Linked DNA regions of Homo sapiens: all the other regions are linked to region 1. The links are contacts of gene promoters, found by promoter capture Hi-C in blood cells and fetal thymus (Javierre and others, 2016). All regions are on one chromosome and are shown on one strand. Each heading gives the region's core, a stretch centred on a gene start or on the middle of the fragment in contact. The rest is flanking DNA. Distances are from core to core; before and after follow the strand shown.

The links. Contacts are between HindIII fragments. The CHiCAGO score rates a contact against its expected background, and 5 or more counts as called.
Region 2: a contact is called between a fragment that was not itself captured here and the fragment with the promoter of CORO6 in region 1, in 1 of 17 cell types (total B cells). The highest score is 6.0, in total B cells.
Region 3: a contact is called between a fragment that was not itself captured here and the fragment with the promoter of CORO6 in region 1, in 5 of 17 cell types (M2 macrophages, M1 macrophages, naive B cells and 2 more). The highest score is 6.8, in M2 macrophages.
Region 4: a contact is called between a fragment that was not itself captured here and the fragment with the promoter of CORO6 in region 1, in 1 of 17 cell types (M1 macrophages). The highest score is 5.8, in M1 macrophages.
Region 5: a contact is called between a fragment that was not itself captured here and the fragment with the promoter of CORO6 in region 1, in 1 of 17 cell types (endothelial precursors). The highest score is 5.3, in endothelial precursors.
Region 6: a fragment that was not itself captured here is called in contact with the fragment with the promoter of CORO6 in region 1 in 1 of 17 cell types (fetal thymus); the score reaches 5.2 in fetal thymus.

Annotation. Positions count from the first base shown.
Region 1 is chr17:29,621,421-29,624,346 of GRCh38, forward strand. It overlaps CORO6 (coronin 6), which reads right to left and starts at 1,492. Exons shown (of 11, transcript NM_032854.4): 1 at 1,268-1,492; 2 at 1-64. The coding sequence starts at 1. RefSeq lists a silencer at 1,156-1,305 and an enhancer at 2,093-2,926. The HindIII fragment of the contact is 1,950 bases long and covers 303-2,252 here.
Region 2 is chr17:30,056,334-30,059,259 of GRCh38, forward strand. It overlaps EFCAB5 (EF-hand calcium binding domain 5), which reads left to right. Exons shown (of 23, transcript NM_198529.4): 13 at 1,343-1,557. It also overlaps the pseudogene RNY4P13. Among named protein-coding and RNA genes, the nearest start is that of NSRP1, 59 kb to the right of the region's middle. The HindIII fragment of the contact is 852 bases long and covers 966-1,817 here.
Region 3 is chr17:29,996,568-29,999,493 of GRCh38, forward strand. All of the region lies in intron 6 of EFCAB5 (EF-hand calcium binding domain 5), which reads left to right. Among named protein-coding and RNA genes, the nearest start is that of EFCAB5, 56 kb to the left of the region's middle. The HindIII fragment of the contact is 3,204 bases long and covers 1-2,926 here.
Region 4 is chr17:29,975,277-29,978,202 of GRCh38, forward strand. The region is part of intron 4 of EFCAB5 (EF-hand calcium binding domain 5); the gene reads left to right. Among named protein-coding and RNA genes, the nearest start is that of EFCAB5, 35 kb to the left of the region's middle. The HindIII fragment of the contact is 241 bases long and covers 1,277-1,517 here.
Region 5 is chr17:29,942,166-29,945,091 of GRCh38, forward strand. It overlaps EFCAB5 (EF-hand calcium binding domain 5), which reads left to right. Exons shown (of 23, transcript NM_198529.4): 2 at 75-137; 3 at 1,400-1,484. Among named protein-coding and RNA genes, the nearest start is that of EFCAB5, 2.0 kb to the left of the region's middle. The HindIII fragment of the contact is 2,825 bases long and covers 1-2,816 here.
Region 6 is chr17:29,919,141-29,922,066 of GRCh38, forward strand. The region is part of intron 1 of SSH2 (slingshot protein phosphatase 2); the gene reads right to left. Among named protein-coding and RNA genes, the nearest start is that of SSH2, 9.6 kb to the right of the region's middle. The HindIII fragment of the contact is 2,904 bases long and covers 1-2,903 here.

The sequences.
Region 1 (2,926 bases), core at 242-2,741:
TAGCTGCAGGCAGAGAGGTAGGATCTCAGTGCCCAGAAATGCCTTTGGTCCTTAGTCCTGTGAGCTGCGGGAGGGAGGAGGAGTGGAGGGGTGGCTGATGAGAAGGGTTATGTGGTCAGGAGTCAGGTATAAATCCATATAGTGTCTGGTCCTAGAAGCAGGGAGCTTTCTTCAAGGTGGTCAAAGTATGGGAAAGTTATTTTGCTGTGTAAAATGCTGTTTAATGTAAGTGGCTAGGATTTGGGGCCTGAATTCTCCACAGAGACCCAGGCTGAGGGGATTGTGGAGCCTAACAGACTGAAAGCTTTCTGGACGTTGGAATGTTTTTGGGAGGAGCCTCAATGCCACACTGCCTGCACCCCCCGCCCCCACCACCGCCAGCCTTGATGAGCATCTCTTCACGGACGTGGTTGTAGCTCCCAGAGGCACCCTGTCCAGAAGCAGAAGACTTGACCATTGGATCTTGGCTTAAAGCCAGGTATGGGGCCAAGACTGCAGCCACCACAGGATACCGAACTCGCATCTCTGGAATAGTTCAGGCAGATGGGGTTTTGCCTTTTCCTAAAATTTTGCCAAGGGGGAAGTTCCTCCTGTCCACCAATCTGAGTCCTTTCTGCTACTGTTTTCATCCCATGCCTTGTGGGGGGACGGGTGGCAGCACAGAGTGAGGTGGATCCCTCTTCTCCCACTCCTTTCTGCACTGGCTTCTCCAGGAAGCCCTGATCATGGTCTTCTGGCTTTTGCCTACCATAGGCTTGTCCGGTTTCTCCTCTGGGTCCTCTGCCCTGGTTGGGCCTTCTTCCTAGTGAACTCTTCTAGGGGTGGGGTCTTCAACCCCATCCTCCACCCCTGCCCCCGCCACGGCCAAGCCAGATTTGCAGGGGTGGGGAGGGTGAGGTGCCTTTTCTCCAGCTAGGGTCTCCCTAGAGGACACACTGAGCACTCCCAAAGCCCCAGCCAGTGGCTCCTGCCCCACCCCAGCCCCAGCATCCGTGTGCCCTTCAAGGCGCGTCTGCGGCCCCGAGCCTGAGGCCCGGCCTCCCTGCACCCTTCTTCAGCCTGCTGCCCTGACACTGCGTTCTTGCGAGACGAGGTGTCTGCGCCCTCCGGGAGCGCTGGCTGCTGTCCGGCCAAATATAGACACCACGTCCTCCCCGCCCGAAACCGAATTTGGCGGCGCGGGGGGAGGAGGCGCAGACCTCTGCCCCTCAGGGACCCCGCCCGCTCCGCTGGCTGCGGTGACGGCCGGGTGTGGGGGGCTGGGTACCTGGTCCTGAGCGGGCTGCGGGGCGCTCACGCTGCGAATCCTCTGCGGAAGGGGCCCGAGTGCGTAGGGGGCCGAGGAAGGCTTCAGGGCGAAGGAGCCACCTCTCCGGGTGTCTGTAGTATCTGGGACCCGGGTGTCCAGCTCCGCACTCTGGCCGATCCTGCGGCTCTCTAGAGCCCGGCGCCGCTGCAGCCCCAGCTGCCGCTGCCATCAACCTAAGAGGGCGGGGCTAGCATAGGGGCGGGGCCAGAGCCCAAGTTGCCCCGCCCCCTCCAGCGGCGGGAAAGTCGAGCGACCCCGACTCCCCTCCCAGCTTCCGCCGGCCTCGGAGAACCATCGAAAATAAATGTGCAGCTGTGTGCTAGGTGCGCACGCTGCTTCCCTCCCTCCATGACTCCCGGGTAGGCTGGGGAGGCTCGGGTTCGCAGACCTAGAGCAGGACGCTTGGAGAGGGAACGGGCGAGGGGGCGTGCGCCCCTAGAGCGGGCAGCCGAGGGAGACCAGGTGCCTCCACCCGCATTCCAGCCTCAATCGCGCTCCCAATTTAGCTGTCCCGATCGGCCGGGACTGCGGGACTGCACTTCCAGGCCTCCCTGGGGGAAAGAGGCCCTAGAGAATGAGGACCCAGGCTGATCCTGATGTAGGGCAAGTGAGAGGGCACCCGACACAGGGTTGTGAATGTTAGTTATTGTTATGAATGGCAATAGCGATCATTTGAGAAACCTAAAATGCTGGCTGTGTGCTAGGCATTTCACCCCATTAGATGAGATTCCATGGAGCAGGGCAGGAAGCAGCTGAAAGAACAAGGGGAGGACCGAGTGTAAAGTGAACCCACCTTGACACTCCCTCCCCTCCCAGATGCAGGGGGAAGAGGCTAGCACCGGTCTCTAGTCACATTTTAGGGGTCAGAGAAGCCAACTCAGAGGCCAGACTCCTAATGTTTTCTGGGCCTTGTTTGAATTGGCGCCCGACTGTGTTCCAGGTAAGCTTCCCCCGTCTCCCCCAATATTCACAGAACTGAATGTTGACCGAGGTCAAGGAGATTAAAGATAACCTGATCAAAATACAGCCAGTGAAGACCAGCCAGTCCCGTAGCTCCAGTCTACCCAGTGTCTGCACATTGCCTGGATTTCTTCCCTTGGATCATAAGGGCATCTGGGGCCAGTTATTACTTCCCACCCTCCAGGGCACACCTGGGAGTGAGTGAATGGAACACAGCCTTCTGAAGGGCAGGAACCAGCACTGGGGAGGAAAGGGAGGGAAGGTGGTAGAAACCATGAAGGGCCCACGAGGCTCCTTTGTTTCTCAGGAAGAGTCCAGGTGGCTTGTAGGGACAGAATCAAATCAAGAGTCAGTGGCTTGTAGGGGAACAGAATAAAAAACTGTTACGAGTGCTCCAGAAATAACTCCTGGCGTAGGGGTGCTGGGGCAGGGTATGAGGGTATGTGAGTCATCTCTCTTTTACCTAAAGATTCCAGGCACATGATTAGGAGGAAAATACCTGAGTGACTCAGTTGCTCCTTTACAACAATAACCCATGCTTATGTGCTAGGCACTGGCACTAAGGGCTTTATACGTATTAATTTCATACTCTTAACAATCCTCTAGGCTGGTCGCGGGTGGCTAACGCCTGTAATCCCAGCACTTTGGGAGGCTGAG
Region 2 (2,926 bases), core at 142-2,641, 430 kb after region 1:
TGATGTACTATTGATGGTGGCATGTGCTATTGATGAATGCTCTTCTGCTTTAAAACTTATGGCATTAGTACCCATTTTTTAACCATGATATGGCCCTACCACTGCTTTAAAGCTATGATCTAAGCATACAGAGAAAATCAGACATTAGATACTAAAACTCAATAGAAATCATTTCAGCTATTCCTTTACCTGGTAGGGCCACATCTAAACATATGAGACAAGTGAGAATCTATCTTGTTTTTGAAGACTTGCAAAGAAAGATCTACTCAACAGAGCAGAGTAGTTTCTGGCTTTCAGACAAAGCATGTCTTTAAAATGATTGTTCCAAAAGCACTCATATTTCACTAAAATGCTACTATATTGTTTTGCCTTTCACATCAACAAGTTGTAGAACTAAATTAGATCAAGATTATCTTCTTCCTACCTGCAAATTTTTCTCTCATTTAAGCCTCAAATAACAAACTTTCTATCCTCAAATTTTCTGGTGAAAATGCATGGCATTGGTCAACCTCTTGCAGCCTGCTAGTTCATGTTCTTCTTCTTAGTCATCTTTATATCAATTTTGCTTTACCAATATATGTAAAAATTGTGAGTAATCATTTTTTTTAATCACATCAAATCTCATATAGAAGGTATAAGGGCATGAATGATTGAATCAATGAATAAATCAAACGGAAGTCACTTTGCTGACATTTTATGAAATATACTTCATACTGTACTATTGAGCTAAAAGGTAAATATATTAGCCAAGGCTTTTGGAAGAAGGAGTTGTGGTGGTGGTATTTAGTAATTTGTTTAACTAGAAAGTTCAGCGTGCAGCTGTTTTCAGGCACAACTAGATTCAAAGGCTCAACAATAGCAGCAGGATACTGTCTGTCTTCCTCTAAGCCCTGTTTTTCTGTGTCACTTTCAATTGAGACAGTTTTCTCCATGTTGTGACAAAAATGGCCATGAAAGCATCTCTAAGCTTATACTCTACTAGTTCAGCAATCAGAGTACAAAAAGAGTGATTCGTCCCTAATAGTTCTTCCAAAAGTTCTGAGGCTAACTCTCATTGGCCTATAGTAGGTTACATTGCTATCATATATGAATTGTTAGCCAGATGTATATCACATGACCATCCATGGCACAAAAGTGGGAGGCACAGTATGACCTGACTCATCTGAACTGACAATGGAGAGATGTTTTTCCAAAGAAAAAAGGAGGATGCTGTCCTCATGAAGGAAGCATGGATTCCTGACAGTCAAAAATGGCAGATATTCATTACAATAGGCACTCATTTATTTTCCCTAACTGAAAAAATTGTTCACTTTACTGCTTGGTAATGTTTCTTGCTTGACAGATTTACACTCAATTATCAGAAATATTCAGTCTTGCAAGGAGGTAAAAGGCAGAACTGCCTTCAATGGAGTTTCATTCAATCTGCTCCAGTTTGTGCAACTCCTGGAGACATTTGTTGGTGAAGACGCTCCCTTGAGTGTCAGCGAGACTCTCACCTCCTTTTTTAAGGAGGGCTATGTTGAAACAGAACAAGAGAAAATGAATGCCTTAGAACAGGTGGGTAATATTATTTATTAATGATACAAGTGAGGTCACTATTATAAGTAAATCTCTCAACCTCAGTTGCTCCCGATGTGGCTCGTGTTAAAAAATGTACAACCAAACTGATCACTTTCTTTCAACAAGCATAGCCATTAAAGATTCTATTTTATCATCAAATATTCTAAGATCACACTCCAGAGAACTCATTCCCCTAATAATAACATGATTGCTCCTAGCAGGAGATGGTTTATTGTACAGCTTTATTCTTTCTCTGAAGCTTTTTGAGAAGCAGATATGGATATATGCAAAGATGTGTATGTGCATTATTTGCCTGTGTGTGAGTGTCTTTACAAGTACACACACCTGGGGTATGATTATGGCCTGAGTATATATTTTTACTCATGAGCACCCAGGTAGTACATATTTCCTAAGAACTTACTACTTACTTGGGTGACAGGTAAGTGCATACACATTAGCTTATATAAACAATTTATTCTCTCATATGAAATATGTAAATTACTTTCACTAAGCTTATTCAGTAATCATCAGCCTTATGAGTCTTTTCAACCTAATTCTAGACAATTCCCTTTACCTTCTCAATTCCAGTTCTTCCTACTAAATCAAAAGGTGTATATTCATTTTATTTTTGCAATTATATCTATCTAGATATTAATTCAATTACTATCTCACTAATATAATTAACCTAGTGAAAACTCTAAAAGATAAATAAAATTAATGTCAAATATAGTCAATCTTAAATATAAAAAAAGAATTTTTAAAACACAGCCATTTTTCATTATTTAAACACTGCCATTCATTCCCCTTCACTCAAAACATATCCCTTAGGGCCAGCTGCAGTGGCTTATGCTTGTAATTCCAGTGCTTTGGGAGGCTGAGGAGGGAAAATCTCTTGGGCTCAGGAATTTGAAGTTACAGTGAACTGTAATTATGCCACTCTATTCCATCCTGGGTGACATAGCAAGACTCTGTCTCTAAATAAAAATAATAATAATTTTAAAATACAGTCTGTGTATTTATCACATTCCTGAACAACTAGAGAAGGAGTGGAAAAGAATGGTCAAAGATTCTTAAGGTTTGTAGAATAAATTTGAAAAAAAAAAAAAAGGATTCTTAAGGAATACTAATGCAGAGAATGCCTGCTGTTATTTTTTTTCTTCAAAGCCAGTCAAGGTTAGCAGTGGGAGGTTGTATACCAACTTTAGTGACACTAATGTTAATAAGTTCTGATAACCCCCTACCATGGGACCAACCAAGAATGTCTGTTTTGTTTTGTTTTTGTTTTTGTTTTTGTTCTGGCCTAGAAGTAAAACAGAGAAATGGTATTTAAGGGATTAAAATTAATCACTGCATTTTCTTTTCTAAA
Region 3 (2,926 bases), core at 140-2,639, 380 kb after region 1:
TATTACCAGTACTCTGCAATACTCTTTTATTATCCTATGACATTCCTAGAAAATATTTCTTACATACATAGAATTTTAAAAGAAAGATATGATGTCATAACTGTGATGTAAACGAGAAATAAAAGTAAAGGCATAAGAAAACTATATGCACTGGCTAGGCATGGTGGCTCACGCTAATATTTACCAGAGTTGAACACTGCCTCCGTAAATTCCTTAGTTTGAATTTCCTTGACTCTACCCAGTCTTATATCCTACACCTTCACTATAACCCTCCTGGGGTCATTCTCTGTTTCTCAAATGTTGTTTCTTGAGTTCCCTTTTCATGTTACATAAATTTCCCTGGATAATCTCATCCAGTTCTGTTACTATATATACTAGGATTAAGACTTCTTCAGAGGCCGGGCACAGTGGCTCACGCCTGTAATCCCAGCACTTTGGGAGCCCGAGATGGGCGGATCATTTGAGGTCAGGAGTTTGAGACCAGCCTGGCCAACATAGTGAAAGACTGTCTCTACTAAAATACAAAAATTAGCCGGGCATGGTGGCGGGCGTCCGTAATCTCAGTTACTTGGGAGGCTGAGGCAGGAGAATCACTTGAACCCAGGAGGCGGAGGTTGCAGTGAGCCGAGGTGACGCCACTGCACTCCAGCCTGGGTGACAGAGTGAGACTCCTTCTAAAAAAAAAAAAAAAGAAAGAAAGAAAATTATATGCACTGTATTTCAATATATAAATGCTTTGTTACGACTTCGCTAGAAGACGTAATAGAGTAGTCAGACATTTCTACCTACTTATAATGTACCTTTAGATATAAGAGAAGTAAAATTATATACAGTTGACCATTTTATTTGTTTTTGACATTTTGGAATAGGGCAAAATGAATATATATATATATATAGAATTCCCAGAAATGCAGACTGACACAGGTGTGTTGTATTAGAATTCAGATACAATTTATATTACTCCCTATTACATAAGTCCTGAAATGGTGAACAACTCTTGGTAAAGTTCCAGAATTAAACAAAGTATAATTCTCCCTCAAATTTTCATATAAGTTATATTCTTGGAAAATTCCACAGCAAAATTATATTCTGCATTTATATGTAAAATAGAGTTGGGTTCTAAGTTCAAAATTATTATAATCAGGTTTTTCATCTACTTGAATGTCCTGCAGAAGGGGGAAAGTCTATGTGCAAGAATTCCATGTGTTCTGCCTCTGCTCCTATTCCTCATCACTGTGGCAATAAAAATTCACCCAAAAATTTCCACCATGCTCCCTGGGAGGAAAGGAGGACAGCACCACCCCTATGGAGAGTCACAGATTTTGGTGCTTTTGTTTTCAGAAAGATTTCCCTATATGAAATTAGGTGGAAAAAAAAAAAAAACCTCACTTGTCCCATAGGAACTAGAGTTTGGGTCCTGAGATTTACATAATTAATATCCAGTAGATTTTTTTCCAATTGATTATTTGACTACTTTTGTTACATTGACAACAATACATTGTCTGAAGTCTGTTGTCACTTTTAAAAATAAAATATGCTTCCCGTCTTCCTGATCACTGATCTCCAAGCATGATTTGGGCCTTACTGATAACCTTTTGTCCTTCTACCTGTTCTCACATTTTCCAAAAACCGTAATTCTTCAGTCAGCTCATCTTTTACTCTTGTTTCAAAAAATCATTGAAATAGCTTCCTTTATTTTTGAATGAGGGTACAGAAGGAGTGAGTTAAGAGAACTCAATTTGGGATCCTGATAAAATTACAGAAATTCCAGAGCATTCCAACTGACAGTGATTGTTTCTCCTCTCACCTCCTATACTACAGTATTTATTTCTGTACTATTCATTCGGTCAATATTCATTGAGCCCTCACTTAGTTCCAGATACTGTAATGAGTAAGAGAATGCAAAGAGGACTGACAAGACATGTTTCCTACCCTTAAGTTGCTCAAACTCCAGTCAGAGACAGACAGACAGGTATACTTAATAGCAACTGTTACTGCTAGAAACGTCTGGTTTGCATAATCATCTGGAGCTTGGGGGAAGGTCTGGGATGGAAATGTCTGCATCTAATGCATAAGTTTATATGAAAATTTATATAGCCTTCCTATGGCCACAATAACAGATATCTCATAATTAGCACTTACCAAATTCAAGAGTGATTGAAAAATCTTTTCTATGCCCTTGTGCCAACCCATGACAGGCAGGAAGAGTTACTATTAGAAGTAGGAGAGGAAGCCAGTGTATAGTTCTTTCATCATGAGCTTTCATACAATTTATGTATTTTTCTCTTGTAAGGTCAATAAGGATTACATAAATTGTCATATCAAATGAAGGTTTAAAAATCTGTATTTGAACTAACGGTCACATTCATCATTACTGATCACTCTAATTTATGAAACTCTTTTTTCTTGGTTTTTGTGATATCATTCTCTTGATTTTTTTCTTCTATTTTTGGTCACCTTTTAGTGTTTTTGTTTCTTGACTCTTCTTTTGCTTGCACCTTAAATTTTGTTTTCCAGAGTTTCCTTTTAGGCTTTCTTGTCACTATACACACTATACACATTCTGTGGGTTTTCTTATTCAAGTCCATGACTGCAGCTGATGACTCCCAATCTATATACACATTACGAACTTTCCCTGAGCCCCAGGTCCTATTTGAAAAAAAGCTACTATGAGTGGTAAATGAAAAAGCAAGTTGCACATCAAAATGATCATATTTATAAGTAGAAAAAAGGTACATGTGTATATATATATACATTTGTATACATACAGAAATGCATAGAAAGGTTGCTGGAAGGATGATAAACTGTTGACAGTGGTTACATCTGGGGCAGAAAGGAGTGAGAGTGCTGATGGGAGGTAGAGAAAAAGGAAGATATTCATGTTTTGTTGCTTATATTTTTGTATTATTTGAATTTGTTAACTAAA
Region 4 (2,926 bases), core at 147-2,646, 350 kb after region 1:
GAGACGAAATCTCACTCTGGTTCCCCAGTCAGGAGTGCAATGGCACAATCTCAGCTCACTGCAACCTCCGCCTCCCGGCAGCGATTCTCCTGCCTCAGCCTCCCGAGTAGCTGGGATTACAGGTGCGTACCACCATGCCCAGCTAATTTTTTGTATTTTAAGTAGAGATGGGGTTTCACCATGTTGGCCAGGCTGGTCTCGAACTCCTGACCTCAGGTGATCTACCCACCTCGGCCTCCCAAAGTGCTGGAATTACAGGCGTGAGCCACCACACCTGGCCCACCTACACTCAAATTTATAATTTCTTTTGACTTGTTTTAGTGTCTTTCCTATAGGGTAAACAACTAATTAGAAGCTTTAGAATAGTAATTCTTTTGGAATTAGGCACAGATATCCCTCTGGGATAAAGTAAGAGATATGTGCAGAACTCTTGTTTTATGTGTGGTTATGAAATTTTTATTTTCAGTTGAAACAGGCTTTCTAAGATCATGGTTGTCTATCAGTGACACCAGAATCACCTGGGGTGCTTGGTTAAAAGTGCAGATTCCTAGATCCTTCCTCAGATCTTCTGAATCAGAACCTCTAGGAATGCATTTAAAACAAGTTCCATAAGAGGTTATTATTGCACACTAAAGTTTCAAGACCAAATTAAAAAGAAAACAAATTAAGAGAGGTTTAGTACTAGTGAAAACTTCCAGTAGTATGCAGGAAGCAGTTTCATTAAATTTAATAAATACCTTAAGGAACATTTCTGCTCACCATCTGTTCTTGCAGTGCAATAAATTAGACTGTATTTAGATCTATTTCCACTAAAAATACTTACAATCTGTGAACTGATTTTGTCTGTAAACAAATATATTGACAAACACTTCCTCTTGTTACAGATATGTAAATCTCAATGGGTATGTAAAACTCTAGACATTTATTAATGTCTATAATAAGATAGTAATAAGCACACTAGGACATTGGGTTCCATGACACAGGAGAATTAGGTTGTTTCACTGATATTTCTTGAACTGGGAGTTTGACTTCTTAGGGTCATTTGAGGCTTGGTAAAAGTTTTAGTTAAAGGTTGCTCTATTGGAGCAGGAATTTCATGAAATAATCAAAGTTGCTTTGTTTACCTGGATTGTTAGAATTGGGGCTTCATCTTTTTCTGGCAGAAATCCAAGATCTGTATGTCAACAGATGACAGTGTCAGGCATTTGTAGAATATTCAGAAATCCTAAGGATGTTTTACAACAGTGTGTTCTGCTCCTAATCCCTATCGACTTAAAGCTTATATACCCAGCAATATTAGTAAAAACAGTCCTGCTTTGAAATTCTCAGAACTATACCATTGTTTGTGTTACCTTCAATCCATTGCAAAGCCTTAGAAAAGTCCATTCACTTTAGGAATGAAATTTTCCTGAATTATAGCCAAGAAAAAAAGTCAAAAGAAAATGTATTTGTTTTAATGAGACTCTATCTTCTTGTGGTAATGTTTAAGTGTTCATTTGCTTCAGCTTGATCCAAAAAGCTTTTGTCTGCCTACTTTCTACGACAAAAGGGATTCATCTCTGTTAGGTCTCTAAAAACAACAGATAGAGAAGACACTGCTTACTTATTTGGAACAATTTTTATAGTGGTAGCCACTATATCTGAAAAATACAGTATCACTGCTGTTTGTAGGTTTTATATGTGCAATGTAATTTACTACTTTTCATTGGGGCTCTTGAAAGACATAGATATAGAATTAAAGTGGACTTTAATTCTTACGTGCAATTTTGGACAACTGTAAAGTAGGTTAAGTTTGTATCATTCACTTTTCTTCATATTTTCTTTTCTTTTAGTATGCTTTGTAAAAAGTATCTTTTCCCTCTGACTCTTGATTTCTCCAGTGTTTGGGATTGCATATTTGAAGGTCATTACCACCTTATTATGAATTGATAATGAAAAATATTTGCTCCTAAAATAGGATTACAAACTTTCAATAGCCTAATTATGATGGTGGTTACACATACTCATATATGTTAAAATTCATAAAACTATGTGCCAAAGAAGGTAAATTTTACTGTATGATATTTTTTAAAATATAAAACTTTTAAGCAGTAAAAAAAGAAAACTGTTAATGTTAGAATTTCAGACTATTCTACTTTACTACAAATTTCCTCTCTTTTCTCAACTAGTCTTGAACCATAATAACCTAGAATGAGTTCAAATGAACCGGAAAGTAGATCTAAGAGACCCCAAACAGAAGCTTGTATCTTTTCCTGTATAATGCATACCCAGTTCTGCCTTGGTAGTGATCTCTGATAATTGCATATTCACTATGGGGTCTGTGTTGCAGTTTGAGATATCTTTTGGGCATTTTTCCTGTGACTCCTCTTTATTAGCTTTATGCATTAATGATGGAACATTTAATCCATAAAGAGAGAGAAACACAAAGAGGTATTTCAAAGAATTACTTTCTCTACCACAGCTACATACAAGAGAAGACCAAGTTAGTATAAATATTCAAGCCTTAAGGATACACAAACCAAGTAAAATTTCAAGAAGCGAGGGACACAGGCCTTTATTTTATTAATTTCTTGCATATTAAGTCGTGTAGTGTTCAAAGAATTTATGTAAACTATGTGACAAAAATCTATTGTGTGTGTTTCTATTGGAATGTGTTATTTGCAGAGTTCTGAAATCTGCTTCAAAGTACTTTTTGTATTTTTTTTAAAAAAAGCTTCAAAATATCTTACTCATCCTTACAAGATGCCAGCAGTAGGATTTGGCAAGACAGAGGGAATGTTTCATCCTTGATATGGGTCTTCCTGAGTTGCCAGGAGACAGTGGCTTCCTAGACAGCTGTCTGCTCATATTCTACACCAGCTGCCACCCATTTACTGAGCCATGTGCTTATATTATGCTAGGAAAACCCACAGGTGCTTCTGCACAG
Region 5 (2,926 bases), core at 154-2,653, 320 kb after region 1:
TATTAAAGTATGAGACAGTAGTTTAATCCACAGCTCTTTTTGGATGCCATTTACTAACACTGTTTGCATTTCAGGAAAACAGAAAAGAAGACAAAGAGAGGAAATGGAACTTAACTGAAGTGAAAGAGCTTCATGAGGTAGAGTTGGCATGAATAAATCAGATATTAATGCTGGAGAATAAGCTAGATAAATCAATTTTCTTATGATAAAAGAAAAGATGTGGGTATTCAAAAAGATAACTAAAATTGCAAAAGGAAAAGGACAAACTCATGTTGATTATTAAGCTGATTCATTTGAGTAAGTTGCAGGAAACTTCCATGGACAGGTAAATTATTTGTGAAGAACTGTTATAAATTACAGATAAATAAAGACTGCTTTCTAAAGTTACCCTAAAAACTGTAACCACCAGCTTTTAGGGTCACTTTACTATCATGCTGAAAATGTAATTTCCAGGTTAATCATTTAAGTAACTTTGTGTTTAAATAAATACAAGGCTACAATAAAGAAGAACGTTTCATAGAAAAGGGGAGGCAATTAAAAATAGTCCTATAGATTCACAAGTGAGTTGACTAATATGAGTTTTTAAAATATCCTATTGATTGTCGATGGCTCACACTTGTAATCCCAGCACTCTGGGAGACCGAGGTGGATCACTTGAGGTCAGGAGTTCAAGACCGGACTGGCCAACATAGCGAAACTCCATCTCTACTAATAATACAAAAATTATCTGGGCTTGGTGGTGCATGCGTGTAATCCTAGCAACTTGAAAGGCCAAGGCAAGATAATCACTTTAACCCAGGAGGCGGAGGTTGCAGTGAGCCGAGATCATGCCACTGCACTCCAGCCTGGGCAACAGAGTGAAACTGCATCTCCAAAATATATATATATATATATATATAGTCAGATTTTTAAAGTACATTAGCATGTATACAAAAACTATTTTGTTGCTATTCATAAAATTAATCTTTAATTTCCTCAATTAAGATTAAATGCTTTTTCTTTTTGCCACAAATACAGAAAGTGATTCTAGTAGTAAAACAGTAGCATTTCCAAAGGTCTGATTTCCTTATGCTATGGTCTCAAATCATGTTTCTATAAACTATTGTATAATTCAAGAATTAATGTACATCTAAAATGATATTCCTAGCATATTACTTTGTTAGTAACAGGAAGATGTGATGACATTTTGAACCAACACATTTTATCTTGTAAATGCAGAAAATACACTGTGATTACCTCTTTGCTTCTAATATACAGCATTAGATCCCAGAAAAATTAACTAGGAATGTTTGGTTAACTCTTACAAAGCAATTAACTTTCCTTTAATTGGAATAATTTATACAACTTTGTTGAAAATCAAGTCACATTGAAATTGGTGATTTTTTTCCTCTTTTCAAAGACCTTACAGAGTGTGCCAGACGTTCCTGTAAAAGAGGACACCAACAGTGTGGTGGAGAAAGCAATGGATGAAATCAAATCCCAAGGTAGAGAACTAGCCTTTCTCTTATACAATAGAATCTAAAACTGGCTGGGCGTGGTGGCTCATGCCTGTAATTCCAGCACTTTGGGAGGCCGAGGCGGGTGGATCATCAGAGGTCAGGAGTTCGAAACCAGCCTGGCCAACATGGTGAAACACCATCTCTTCTAAAAATACAAAAAATTAGCTGGGCATAGTGGCGGGTGCCTGTAATCCCAGCTACTCTGGAGGCTGAGGCAGGAGAATTGCGTGAACAGGGAGGTGGGGGTTGCAGTGAGCCAAGCTCGTGGATTGCACTCCAGCCTGGGTGACAGAGCGAAACTCCATCTCAAAAAAATAAATAAATAAAAGAATCTAAAACTATCATTAACATTTTACTGGGGATGCGTTCTTCAAGATTTTGCATTTTAAAGATATAATTTCAGGGGATATTTTATTTTATTTTTATTTTTAGAGATGGATCTTGCCCTGTACCTAGACTGAAGTTCAGTGACACGGTCATAGTTCACTGCAGATTCAAAGTCCTGGGTTCAAGTGATCCTCCTATCTCAGCCTCCAGAGTTGCTGGGACTATGGGCACACATTACCTCACCTAGCTAGTTTTTTATTTTTTATTTTTGTAGAGAGAATTTCTTGCTATGTTTCCTGGGCTGGTCTCGATCTCCTGGACTCAGGCGATCCTCCTGTCTCAGCCTCCAGAGTCACTGAGATTATAGGCCAGAGGGTATTTTAAATGCAGTTTGGGAAACAATTTAAAATGTATTTCATTCACCTTCTATTAATGCTTTTGAGGCAATTTATGATTATTCATCTTGCACTTAAAGAGAAAATTTATCTAAGAAAGCTGACTGACATCTAGCAGGCAACCCACTAATACAATAATAAAATGAAGAACTCCAGTGATTTGGGCTGCTTATTGTCCTTGGCCCTGTTTATTGTTTTTGGGTTTTGTTGTTGTTTTTTTGTTGTTTTCTGTTTTGTTTTGTTTTTTTTTTTTTGAGACGAAGTTTTGCGCTTGTTGCCCAGGGCAGAGTGCAATGGTGCAATCTCGGCTCACTGCAACCTCAGCCTCCCGGGTTCAAGCGATTCTCCAGCCTCAGCCTCCCGAGTAGCTGGGATTACAAGCACGTGCCATCACACCCGGCTAAGTTTGTATTTTTAATAGAGATGGGGTTTCCCAATGTTGGCCAGGCTGGTCTCAAACTCCCAACCTCAGGTGATCTGCCTGCCTTGGCCTACCAAAGTGTTGGGATTACAAGTATGAGCCACTGTGCCCGGCCAACACTGTTTACTGTTTTTACTCCTGTACTTGACCACATATTTATTCCGTTTGATCCAAAGCTTGACTCCTAGCCCCATCCTTAACCCAAATTCCACATAATTATGCAGATTGAAAATTTATAGGATTAAAAAGTCTTCAAAAAAGTAGAGAAGACATTCATCTCTTTC
Region 6 (2,926 bases), core at 202-2,701, 300 kb after region 1:
GCTTCCTGAGGTTAGAGACTAACTGGCTGCTGGATTCCCAGCAGTGGTATAAATGAGTAAGTAAATAAATATGTCTCAGACACAAAAAAGGTACTAAATAAGTTTTTCAGAAAATTAAATCAAACAGTTCCATAAAAACTAAGCTGGAACAGAGTATTATCTCTCCCCATCTGTTTCTAAGCACATCCTTTCCCACTCAATAAATGAAGTACTTCCCTCTATCTTTCAGGAAGTCTAGGGAACCATGGGACCTTTCATTACATTTCAGAGCCACGAGTACCTCACCAGACTTTACCTTGAGAGGAAAATGAGGGGCACTGTGATCAGTAGCTTTGCTGCTCAGATGGGCAAGAAAATGCAGGGTAGTTTATAAAGGTATCTGAAGAGAACTCAGTGCTGAGAAACAAAGGAAGGGAATGTATGAGATCACCTGCACAAAATAGCACTCACTAAATACTTCTGATTAACAAGATTCTTAAGGTTTTACTCATGTACATCCAGCCTCTGGCATATTTCAGGTTGGGCAAAGGGGCTCATCAAGAATTACACTTTTTTTTTTTTTAATTGGAAATACTTTCCCTACTACTAGGTTTACTGAATGGAAAAACTACAGCTAGGTGTTTTTTTTTTTTAATGGATTAACAAATAAACATAAAACATGGACATGTGAATAGCTTCAAAAGGCTAGGCACTGCTGCAGACAACACTACAGCAGGCATTTAATGGAAAAACAGTAAATCTTAAGCTGCTGAAACCAGGAGTGATTTATTTATTTATTTATTTTCTGAGACGGAGTTTCCCTCTTGTTGCCCAGGCTGGAGTGCAATGGCGTGATCTCAGCTCACCACAACCTCCGCCTCCCAGGTTCAAACCATTCTGCCTCAGCCTCCCGAGTAGCTGGGATTACAGGCATGCGCCACCACACTCAGCTAATTTTGTATTGTTAGTAGAGACAGGGTTTCTCCATGTTGGTCAGGCTGGTCTCGAACTGCCGACCTTATCTGCCCACCTCAGCCTCCCAAAGTGCTGGGATTACAGGCATGAGCCACCGCGCCCAGCTATCAGGAGTGATATTTAATGGTGAAACCTAGGAAGGCAGTGCTGCACAGTGTCTTTTTCAGCGTGAGCATAATCTAGAAACTGCTCCCTCTCACTTAAAGCCGGATAGGAAAGATGAGAAACCTGAAGATACTTTTTGAGGACCAAAGGCCTTCTCTTTTTCTGGGCTTCCCAGGTACTTGAGTGAAAATTCAAAATGTAAGCTAGTTTAAAGTTTATTTTCTATGCATGCAATTTAATAAATACTAAGTAATATATGCTAAACTAACTAAATTCCTATGAGACTTGCAATGGAACTTCTATGGAACACCTTATACCTGAATTAAGTATTTGGGAATTTAGTACTTCCCAAGGAGGAGTTCCACACCATTGGAAAAAAGGAGTGACTGTTTCATATAATGAACTAAGAAAAGCTGCTATTTGGAATAAAATAAACATAATCCTTACTTCACATCATGTAGTAAAATTAATTTCAGACAATTAAAAGATATAAAAATAATACTATAAATAGCTTTAAAACATATAGGTCTAAATTTTTTCAATAAGTAGAATATTTCTATCCTTATTGACGGAAAAGTGAACTAAGAAAAATAATTTTAAAAACCCACACACAAGACTGGATTGATGGCATTAAAATTTTGTAAATGTCTGTATATACAAATGAATGAAATAAACAAAACAAAATGGCAAATGAAAAACCAGAGGAAAATTTGCAACATAACAGAAAAAGGTTAATATTCTTAGTATATAAAGAATACTTACACATCAATATGAAAAAGTAAATAGCCATGAAGAAAGCTGGGCAAAGAACATGAACGATTTACAAAACAAGGAATATATAATAAAACATATAATAGTAAATATTTGAAAAAATGTTTAGCCTCTAATTTTTAAAAATGTAAATTAAAACAACAATAAAATACTAGTGATTAAGAGAAGGGGTTGTGAGGTCAGACACCAGGCCTATAATCCTGGACAATTCACTTCACTTATCTGAGTCTGTATTTTCTTGGTAAAATCAAGAGAATAACAATGCTTACGCCACAGGAGTGATGTGAAAATTAAGCAACATGAGGCACAAAAGGTACTCAACACAGTGTCTAGTATACAGTAAGTGTTCAATAAATATCCCTATGATGATGATGCTACTTAAGGCTGTGAGACTACACTTAAACATTTTTATACAATGCTTGTAAACAAAGATTGATTCAACCTTTCTGCTGGATAATTTGGCAACATGTATCAAAAGTCTTAAAAGTGATCATATCCTTTGGGCTTCTCAAGATATCTGTCTATGCTTAAAAACAGTAGAAGAACTCAAAATAGAAGATTGCTAAATATGACTATATCTGTTGATCATCCATTGATCCATGTGTCAAATACTTTTTTTTTTTAAGAGGGAGTTTCATTCTTATTGCCCAGGCTGGAGTGCTATGGCGAGGTCTTGGCTCACTGCAACCTCTGCCTCCCGGGTTCAAGCGATTCTCCTGCCTCAGTAGGAGTAGCTGGGATTACAGGCATCCACCACCGCATCTGGCTAATTTTTGTATATTTAGTAGGCTGGTCTCAAACTCCCGACCTCAGGTGATCTGCCTGCCTCAACCTCCCAAAGTGCTGGGATTACAGTAGTGAGCCACCGCGCCCAGCCCCATGCGTCAAATACTTTTGAGCTCTGATAATACAAAAATATGTAAATGACCCAGTCCCTGACTTATAGGTTAGTGGGGGAGATAAGTAATAAAACAAGTACAGTAGAAAGATAAGAGCCACCATGGGTAAGTATAGGGTGCTATGCTGTGCGTAGAAGGAGCACCTACCATGATCTGAGGGGGTGGAGTCAGGGAAGCTTCCCAGAAGAAGTGACATT